Linked DNA regions of Homo sapiens: all the other regions are linked to region 2. The links are contacts of gene promoters, found by promoter capture Hi-C in blood cells and fetal thymus (Javierre and others, 2016). All regions are on one chromosome and are shown on one strand. The core of a region is centred on a gene start or on the middle of the fragment in contact, and the rest is flanking DNA. Distances in the headings are between cores, read along the strand shown.

Evidence for each region. Contacts are between HindIII fragments. The CHiCAGO score rates a contact against its expected background, and 5 or more counts as called.
Region 1: a contact is called between a fragment that was not itself captured here and the fragment with the promoter of NANP in region 2, in 2 of 17 cell types (monocytes and total B cells). The highest score is 7.5, in monocytes.
Region 3: a contact is called between a fragment that was not itself captured here and the fragment with the promoter of NANP in region 2, in 1 of 17 cell types (monocytes). The highest score is 5.7, in monocytes.

What each region holds. Positions count from the first base shown.
Region 1 is chr20:25,189,634-25,192,533 of GRCh38, forward strand. It overlaps LOC101926889 (a long non-coding RNA gene), which reads right to left. Exons shown (of 6, transcript NR_109994.1): 2 at 585-669. Among named protein-coding and RNA genes, the nearest start is that of ENTPD6, 4.6 kb to the right of the region's middle. The HindIII fragment of the contact is 3,902 bases long and covers 1-2,900 here.
Region 2 is chr20:25,622,651-25,625,808 of GRCh38, forward strand. NANP (N-acetylneuraminic acid phosphatase) reads right to left here and starts at 1,364. Exons shown (of 2, transcript NM_152667.3): 1 at 1,209-1,364. The coding sequence starts at 1,298. ZNF337-AS1 (ZNF337 antisense RNA 1) reads left to right here and starts at 1,395. Exons shown (of 4, transcript NR_126465.1): 1 at 1,395-1,485. RefSeq lists enhancers at 637-1,312, 1,284-1,453 and a silencer at 1,054-1,113. The HindIII fragment of the contact is 6,234 bases long and covers 1-3,158 here.
Region 3 is chr20:25,316,093-25,319,078 of GRCh38, forward strand. It overlaps ABHD12 (abhydrolase domain containing 12, lysophospholipase), which reads right to left. Exons shown (of 13, transcript NM_001042472.3): 5 at 956-986. Among named protein-coding and RNA genes, the nearest start is that of PYGB, 70 kb to the left of the region's middle. RefSeq lists enhancers at 885-1,494, 2,608-2,667, 2,698-2,937. The HindIII fragment of the contact is 6,692 bases long and covers 1-2,986 here.

The DNA of each region.
Region 1 (2,900 bases), core at 377-2,876, 430 kb before region 2:
TCATATTAACAAATTAGTGGGCCGGCGCGGTGGCTCACGCCTGTAATCCCAGCACTTTGGAAGGTTGAGGCAGGTGGATTGCCTGAGGTCAGGAGTTCGAGACCAGTCTGGCCAACATGGTGAAACCCCGTCTCTACTAAAAATACAAAAGAATTAGCTGGGCATGCCAGCGTGTGCCTGTAATCCCAGCTACTTGGGAGGCTGAGGCAGGGGAATTGCTTGAACCAGGGAGGTGGAGGTTGCAGTGAGCCAAGATCATGCCACTGCACTCCAGCCTGGGTGACAGAGCGAAACTCCATCTCAAACAAAAAAGAAAATTAGTGGAGAAAAATAATAATATCATGTATAGATGAAGGAAATGCACAAAATAAAACTGAACATTCATTAATGATTTTTTAAAACTCTTAAACTAGAAATAGAAGAACATTTTCTTAATCTGGTAGACGACAACCTATACAATGTAAAATGCTAAAGGCCCTCATGGAGAGAAGACAGTCCATTAACAGCTACTCTAAATGGGACAATCTGTTCACACCAGTCTCCCCCTACCAGGACAGTCGACCAATTGCCAAGAACAGTATTACCTGTTTTACAGCTGCACTTCATGTGGTCCCAACAAGACTATCACTACAGTGCAAGATGACATCTGTTGGATCATCCATCGGGAAGCTAAAAGAGACCACACAATGGCCCATGTGGCAGGCAGGAATCATAAATGCCAAGTTCTCTTGGGGAAGAGTAGGGTTTCCCTCACATTTTTTCTTGTTTGTAGTAGATTTTGGAAAATGGAAGGCTAGCCATGAGCAGGGAAGATCTGACTTTTTTGGTGAGTTACAGGAAAAATATTTGGTAGAGAAAGCAGTGATTTGTGGTTATAGATTTCAGGGAACCAAAGGAAGAAATCAGAGCAGTGGCTAAGATGTTTTGTTTGATATTATTAACAAATGACCTATGAGTGATGGTATCTTAGGTTGAATTCTTCCAAAACAAATTCTAAAGAATGATTTGAGTGCAAGTAGTTTATTTAGGAGGTGACACCAGGAAAAACCAGTAGAGGAGTGGGGCAGTGAGACAGGGAAGGGAGGAAAGCCAGTGTGGGTTACCGCTCTGGACCACTGTGTTCAATGCCAAGTAGACATGCCGGAGAGTTGTCCTGAGTGGAAAGGGAGCCAGGGTCTTTGCACCTGACATGGGCTGAAACTGCTCTCAGAAGCATTACCTCCTGGCACTTCCTCTGCCAAAAGAAGGCCCTGCTGTGGAGAGTCACGGGAGCACACAGTGGGACAGACACAGGCAGGAGGCCTGGCAGCCTCTGCTACAGAGACACTGCACAGTCCATGTTCTGTTCCTTCACTGAGCAGACAGCTTTGCAGCTGTCCTCCTGGACTTTTGTGAGTAGGTGGACACATGTGAGCAAGCCACACACAATAGAGGGCTTCCTCCACTATTACTCAAGTTAGGTAAATTGAGGCAGCTTGGTAACTCACCAACCTCTTCTAAAACATTCTCACCCCCAAAAAGCAGGGCCAGGCACTCCCCCCTGCTGTCAGAACACTTGCATACATGTTCTGCTGGAGCCCATGTCTCAGTTATCTGCTCCTGCATTCCTAGGGCGGGTGCCAATTGGCTTCCTTCACCTTCTGCCTGCAGGGCTGAGCTGCTTCTGGCTGACAAGTGAAAACATTAGAAGCACCCTCATCAATCCATCCATTTCTTCAAGAAATATTTTATATGTTGACTTCATTTGAGTTTACCCAAAGGCAGTTTGAGTCAAGAGCTTAGATGCAGGTAGTTGACCTGGGAGGTGATTCCCAGAAGCAGGAGAGAGAGAGAGAGAGAGAACCGAGAAAGATCGGAGGACCAACCCAAGGGGGCATTACTGAGCTGATCACCACTAAGGGTCACTGAGGCTCACTTCTACTGAGGACTCAGAATTGGTCCTCTGGGGACAGAAGGCTGAGGTATATATCCCCAGTTAATTAAGGGTTGCTGTGAAGGAGGTTCACTGTGCATTGGTTACCAACATGTCTGTGTCCAGTGAGAGAGAACGCATTCATACTCAATAAGTTATATGAAGCAAATTTATTACTTACAGACAGGCAGCAAGGGACAAGAGGAGCATTCATTGCAAGCTGGTTGCCTGAGGCTCAGGAAATCTGCTCAGGGCAAATGGAGTCTCAACTGGGCATGCCCCACTTGCACCACAGACGAGGAATGCCAGAGAGCAGCCTGCCCTGGGTTTAACATCCCAGGGTAATGTGATTTGCTGGGCAGTGTTGAAGGACATCCTATTTTCAGCAGGAGACTGGAACTGACCTTGGGCTGTTCAGCCAGTTCTCCCTTATCTCAAGATGCTGCAATCCTAGCACATTCTGCAGTTATTCCTGAGAACTACATGGTAAAAAGGGGACTGGGTCTGTCCAAGGCCACCCAAACTGCCCTGCAGTTGCCCCGGGGATGTTAAATTTCCCTGAATTCCAGGCTGCGCCTGCTCCCAAGGCTTCCGGAGAAAGTCGTAAGATAAGCCCTAAAGAGGACAGCAACGAGATGCTTGAGGTGGCAGCATTCAGGGGAACTCTCCACAACAATCAGAGAGCTGACGGCAGAGGCAGGCAAGGGACATTAGCACCAATAATGTATGCTACAGGCACCTACCATGTTCTAGACAGAGTGCCAGACATGCAGCAGTGAGCAGGACAGACCAACTTATTTGTTCTCATGGAGCTTCATTTCAGTAGTGGAACAAAGAATTTACCAATAAACAAGTCAGCAAACAAGTAATGACGGGTGTTGTGTCTTTGCAAAAATTATGACAATAAGAAAAATATGACATAGGAAAATTACAACAGTGAAAGAAAGCTGGCCTAACCGACTCCATCTTCTAACCTCCAATCTGCCTT
Region 2 (3,158 bases), core at 114-2,613:
GGCCAACAAGTTAAAAGTGTGGAATGCCTCAGTAAAGTCATGAAGACAGACTTTAAAAATGTCTACTGATTCCGGCATTTTGGGAATGCCTAGTGATCCAGCAAGTCTATTTCAGTCTAGCGGTGAAGATAAAGCGACATTACGATGGATTTAGTAATAAATAGGAGGTAGAGACAAGGAGATAACGGGTATAGATTTCTCCGGGAAAACATGGCTGTCAAGAGAGACAGGCAACATCTACAGCAGGAAGAATAGCCCAAAGGGAGGCATCCTTTTTACAGCTTTTTTAAAACTATAGGGCAAACATGAATATGCGGCAGGAGTGGAATGCAGCTAAAAAGAAAACGGATGAGGTAGTGGAAGATCCAGGGACACAAAAACTAACTGATGAAGCATGAAGAGGACGGGGCGCTCAGGTTTGGATGAATTAGCTTTTGAAAGTGAGTTTTCCACATCTGATAAATCCTTCCCTTTCCCCTTGAAGCTGAAGGTAGAGAAAGGGAAGCCGGGGTGGACTGGGGCTGGAACACGGGAAGGTCTGAAAGCGCCTCCGCGCGTGTAGAGGGGCAGTGCCGCGGAGGAGCGCCTCAGGAAGGGCATGCCCTCGCAGCACGGGCTTTTGCTGTGTCACGTGTCAGAAAGCCACGGTGACCACCACCCCGCCAGGGAGGCCAGAAGAAGTTCTGCGGCGACAATTCTCTAAAGCAGGGCTTAAGTCCAGGCTCGGTACTGACAGCCGTGTCCCTTCTTGGGTCAACACTGGGGCTAACTCTACCATGTCTCCTCCCAGCAACCCCGAAAGTCGCATGGGGGACACGACCCTCTGTCGAGCTCCACACCGACAGTCTGACCGGGGGCGGGACCAGCGCCTGGTCTCGCGGCTTTGCTGTCGCCTCCCGCGCCCACGGGCACCTCCGCCACCGTGGCAGCCGTCACGGAGCCCTTCCGCGTCCCGAGCGCCAAGGCACCTGCGAGCAGCCGCTCCAGGGCTCGAGATTGGGTGACAAGCGGCCGCCAGGCCAGGGAAAGCAGACCCGCAGGGCCCGCGCGCCTCCAGCCACCTCCGCACCCGCACGCTCCACAGGTTTCAACCAGCAAGAGCGGCCCGCGGCGCCGGGGTGGAAGTGGGGTCAAGGGGAGGTGAGCGTGCAGGACGGGGCGGGGCGCACTGACCCCGCCCAGAGGAGCGCCATGGGTGGGGACGTTACCTCCAACATGCCTCTCCTGCTCGCCCCGGCCGTGTCGATGAGAGTGTTGTCCAAGTCAAAGAAAACCGCCCGCACGCGGCTCAGCCCCATAGCGCCGGCCGCTGGCGCGAACCGTAGCCTTGCCACCGCCGCCTGCGCATGCGCAAGGCGGACTGCCCAGAGAGACGTGGGAGGAGCCGCGAAGTCACCAGACCATCTCCCGGCGCGGGTGGAATTCCCGCGATCTGTCTCATTCCCTGCGCCGCCGAGAAAAGTGAGATCCCGCGAGACTCCCAGGGTATGGTCTCTCAAGAGCCCTGGAAACGTGTGTCGGCGCCGCCGGATGCGGCGACTTCTCAGTGGCTGTGGCTGGCGTTGGTCCGAAGCGTGGTGTTCTTCCCTGGTGTCTTTCTGCTTATCTCTTTCCTCCCTGGGCCCTCCGGCGCGAGGGACCGTCATCACCTCCCCGAGAGAGGTTGTCCGCGCTGCCAGGCGCTGGGCAGCAGGCTCTCCGGGTGGCCGGGCGGGCGGCGCGGAGACGTCGGCGGGCCTGATGTCTGCCTTGAGCGCCCGCGGTCCTAGCCTGCCTGTACGCGCAGGTCACTGTAGGTGATCTGGGGACGGGGGAAGGTGGAGCCTGCGCCTTCCCGCCTCGCGCCATTTGCGGCCTTCGCCGGGGTGGAATCCCTGTCTGCCTGGGCCCGCGCCAGCACGTTTCTGAAGGATGTGACTTGGGTCTCTTACAACCCGTTTAGTACCTGTGCCCTAAGACGGAGGGGCTGTGTAGTGGCTGCCCCATGTTTTGCCCTTCCTGATTGTTTTCCTGAAACCTTGCGTTCTCAGGTCTTTGGATGCCTTTTACTCGGTTGTTTTCAGGCATAGCAAGAGGTTGAGGGACGTCGACCGCCTTTTAAACCCGCGGAAGGGCTGTAGCAACTCTTGTCTCCTAGTGCTGGCAGAACGGGGATCGTAACACTAATCTCTAATCTTTGTCTCTCTTGGGTACCTTTACTGTAATTTGGATATGTGGTCATCATTAGTGACCAGAAATTGACTGTCAGGTACAGGCCAATTACCTGATTTTGTTTAGCCAGTGAGCTAAGTGGTTTTTTTTATTTTTTAATTTATTTTTATTTTTATTTTCGAGATGGAGTCTTGCTCTGTCACCCAGTCTGGCGTGTAGTGGCACGATCTTGGCTCACTGCAACCTCCGCCTCCCGGGTTCAAGCAATTCTCCGGCTTCAGCCTCCTGAGTAGCTGGGATTACAGGCGCATGCCACCACCCCCCGGCTAATTTTTGTATTTTTAGTAGAGACGGAGTTTCACCATGTTGGCCAGGCTGGTTCTCGAACTCCTGACTTCGTGATCCACCCGTCTTGGCCTCCCAAAGAGCTGGGATTACAGGCGTGAGCCACCGCGCCTGGCTAAGGGTGATTTTTACATTTGTAAATGGATTTAAAAAATCAAAATAACAGTGTTTTGTTACACATGAAAATCAAGAAATTTTAGTGCCCATAGTTGCATTAGAACACAGCGCACACATTCATTTCTGTATCGTCTGTGGCTGCTGTTGCCATACAGAAGCAGACAGAGTTGAGTAATTGTAAGCGAGACCACGTGGCTGGAAATCCTAAAATATTCATTATTTAGCTCTTTAGAGAAAAAAATTGCCAGTCTCTCACCTCGCTGGTGGAACTCCTTAACAGACCACTGATGTTCAGTAGGTTAGATTAATTGGTTTATCTTTATATTAATAGGAGTTTCTTCTGCAGCGTTAGACTACCTACAGTTTCTATATTTTATGGAGCACAATCACAGTTGACATCTCATTGCTATGGTGGAGAATAAACCCATAGGCATTCCTCAAAACCATGACTCCTTTCTGTGCTTACCTCATTGACGTATAGGGCTAGCCTATCAATTGTGGACATTTAGATTAGCAATCAGCCAAAATTATGGTGAATTAATTGG
Region 3 (2,986 bases), core at 319-2,818, 310 kb before region 2:
GCCCTTGCTGGGGTGAGCCTACGACCTGGCAGTCAGTGTAGCACCTGGAGCACCTGGTTTCTCTTTTCCTTTTTTTTTGTTTTTTGAGACGGAGTCTTGCTCTGTTGCCCAGGCTAGAGTGCAGTGGTGCCATCTTGGCTCACTGCAACCTCCGCCTCCCAGGTTTAAGCAATTCTCTGCCTCAGCCTCCTGAGTAGCTGGGATTACAGGCGCCCGCCACCACGCCTGGCTAATTTTTTTTGTATTTTTAGTAGAGACGGGGTTTCACCATCCTGGCCGGCTGGTCTTGAACTCCTGACCTTGTGATCCACCCATCTTGGCCTCCCAAAGTGCTGGGATTACAGGCGTGAGCCACCACACCCAGCCGTCTCTTTTCATTTTATACACAAGTAACGTAACATTGAAAAACAATTTCCAGTGCTGCTTATGTAGTCTGCCAATATCTGCACTTGGTCTACAAAGCCCATACATTCTGATGTTGGGGCCCAGGCCTAGAAGCAGTGTGATGGGCAGTCACAGCAGAGGCAGCCAAGGCCCTACCTTCCAGCACGCCCATCCAAAGGCAGTGTTAAAAAGCTCAACACGCCTGTCATCCCAACACTTTGGGAGGCCAAGGTGGGAGGCCCAGGAGTTCGAGACCAGCCTGAGCAACATAGGGAGACCTCATTTCTACAAAAAAACAAACAAAAATTAGCTGGGCGTGGTGGCGGCATGCACCTGCAGTCTCAGGAGGCTGAAGCAGGAGGATAGTTTGAGCCCAGGAGGTCGACGCTGCAGTGCGCTGTGACTGTACCACTGCACTCCAGCCTGGGCAACAGAGGAGGAGGACCCTGTCTCACACACACAAACAGCCCAGCAATAGTTAACTCTCAAGCTGTGAGTCTGGTGACTCCCTTCACTTCCTGCCCTGGAAAGAACAGCCCAGGGAACAGGTGTGGGTGCTGCCTGCACTCACCTTGTAAAGCTCCACGCGGTGGTCGCCTCCTCTGGAGAAGAAAACAGGACATGGTGTGAGCACATCTTCTCAGAGTTGGGCCCCAGGTCAACTTGTCCTCCATACCCCAAACCAGGGGGAGGCCAATGAAAGAGGGCAGAACCTCTTCCTTGGGTCCCCCTAAGTAGCCCCACACTCGCCTCTGGCAGTGCTGTGCCAAGGGGGAGATGGTCTTAGCACTTTGGGGGAGATTTCTTAATGACTGCTTTTATTTTTCAGTAGGTAATGCACACCTACAGCCCCAAACTAGAAAGACACTAAAGGAAACACAGCAAGGCCTCATCCACCACACCCCAGACCCTCCCAGCTTCCCTGTGCCAAGGACACCCTGTGTAGACAGAGGCTGTGCTCCAACAGGACCCGTATGGGCGACTTCTGCCCTCACTTCTTGCTCCGCACGTCTCAGCCGACCTTCAGAACTCTGCTTAGCCACACCACCCTGGCCTCTCATGGTCATCTTGACTGTTTCCCACCTGGCACTAACTTCTGTTTGCTGCTGTGGCCACCCTGCCTTACAGCCCTTCACATGTGTGTGCTCTGCACATGGGATATGCTCCTAGAATCTCCCCAGGGAGGCCCTGAAGTGCCGGAACGGCTGCCTCCCGCCCCTCACAGCCAACTACAGCTTCACCGTGCATGTCGCTACTGAGACTAAGTGGGCTCGGCACACACCCTCCCATTTGTACTTCCTTGTCTGAGGCCTGTCTAGGCTCCCTTCCCTCTTTCTTTCCAGTTGTTGGCCAGCTGTTAACCTGGACCGACCCCACAGCAGGGACATGGGCCACCTGGGAGGAGGGCGGGTCCACACTCTCCACACTCCCTAGCCGTGCTCCTCCTTCCTCAGGAGCGGTCTCAACATTTCAGGTATGGGGGCGGGAGTGTTGCTGGTTGGACACCAGGATGAGATGGAGGAGGAAGCCAATAAAGTACAGAAACAAAAATATAAAGGGTCAGGTGCGGTGGTTCACACCTGTAATCCCAGCACTTTGGGAGGCCGAGGTGAGCAGATCACTTGAGCTCAGGAGTTTGAGACCAGCCTGGTCAAATGGTGAAACCCGTCTCTACTAAAAATACAAAAATTAGCTGGCCATGGTGGTGGGTGACTGTAATCCCAGCTACTCGGGAGACCGAGGCAGGAGAGTCACTTGAACTCAGGAGGCTGAGGTTGCAGTGAGTCAGGATTGTGCCACTGCACTCCAGCCTGGGCAACAGAGTGAGACTCTGTCTCAAAAATTAAAATAAAAAATAAAGGAATGAGTTTCAAGGCAAGGAGGAAACACTGCAAAATATTTTCAGTTATCATTGTAAGAGTTCACAGTGGCTCTAAGTTTCTAAAATTTCCTACATTAAGCAAAAAAGGAACAGTTGCTGGGAATCCAGGGGGTCTGGACCTCAGGGGGACCCGGGTGGTGGATCCCGCAGACCAGCGAAACCCCAGTGGGATGCACAGGACAAAGAAAGCAGGCAACGTGGGGGTGGCGAGGACTGCAGCCAGGCAGTCTCTGCAGGATTGGGAGGGGGCAGCAAACACTGAAAGTCACGGCATCCCTTTCTAACCTAAAGTTATAGGCAGGATCTTTTTTTTTTTTTTTTAACCATGTGATGGGCACTGCAGAACTGAACCTTATTCACAGCCAACCACAGTTCTGTCATTTATAAAAAGATGCTGCAAGAGCTGTTTGTAGCCACTTGCTCTTTGAAAAGCAGAAGAGAAACCCTCTGCAGCTTGTCCCAGACAAAGAAGAAAGGAAACTGTGCAGCACATGCATGATTCTGTAGCTAGACACGCCATCCCTGACACAGAAACCGCTTCACGGGCCATGCCGCCAGGCTCTTTCAGCAATGCTCTCTGCAGGGTTCCACCATGCAGACCCCACCTAGGCCTGCTTTCCCTTCCAGAAGGGCCCAGCACAGCTCTCCTTGCTGGCTCTGCCTATAAAATGTTTGCCCCCAGCCCTGACATACCCTGGTGCCACACGGGACCTCGGCCCT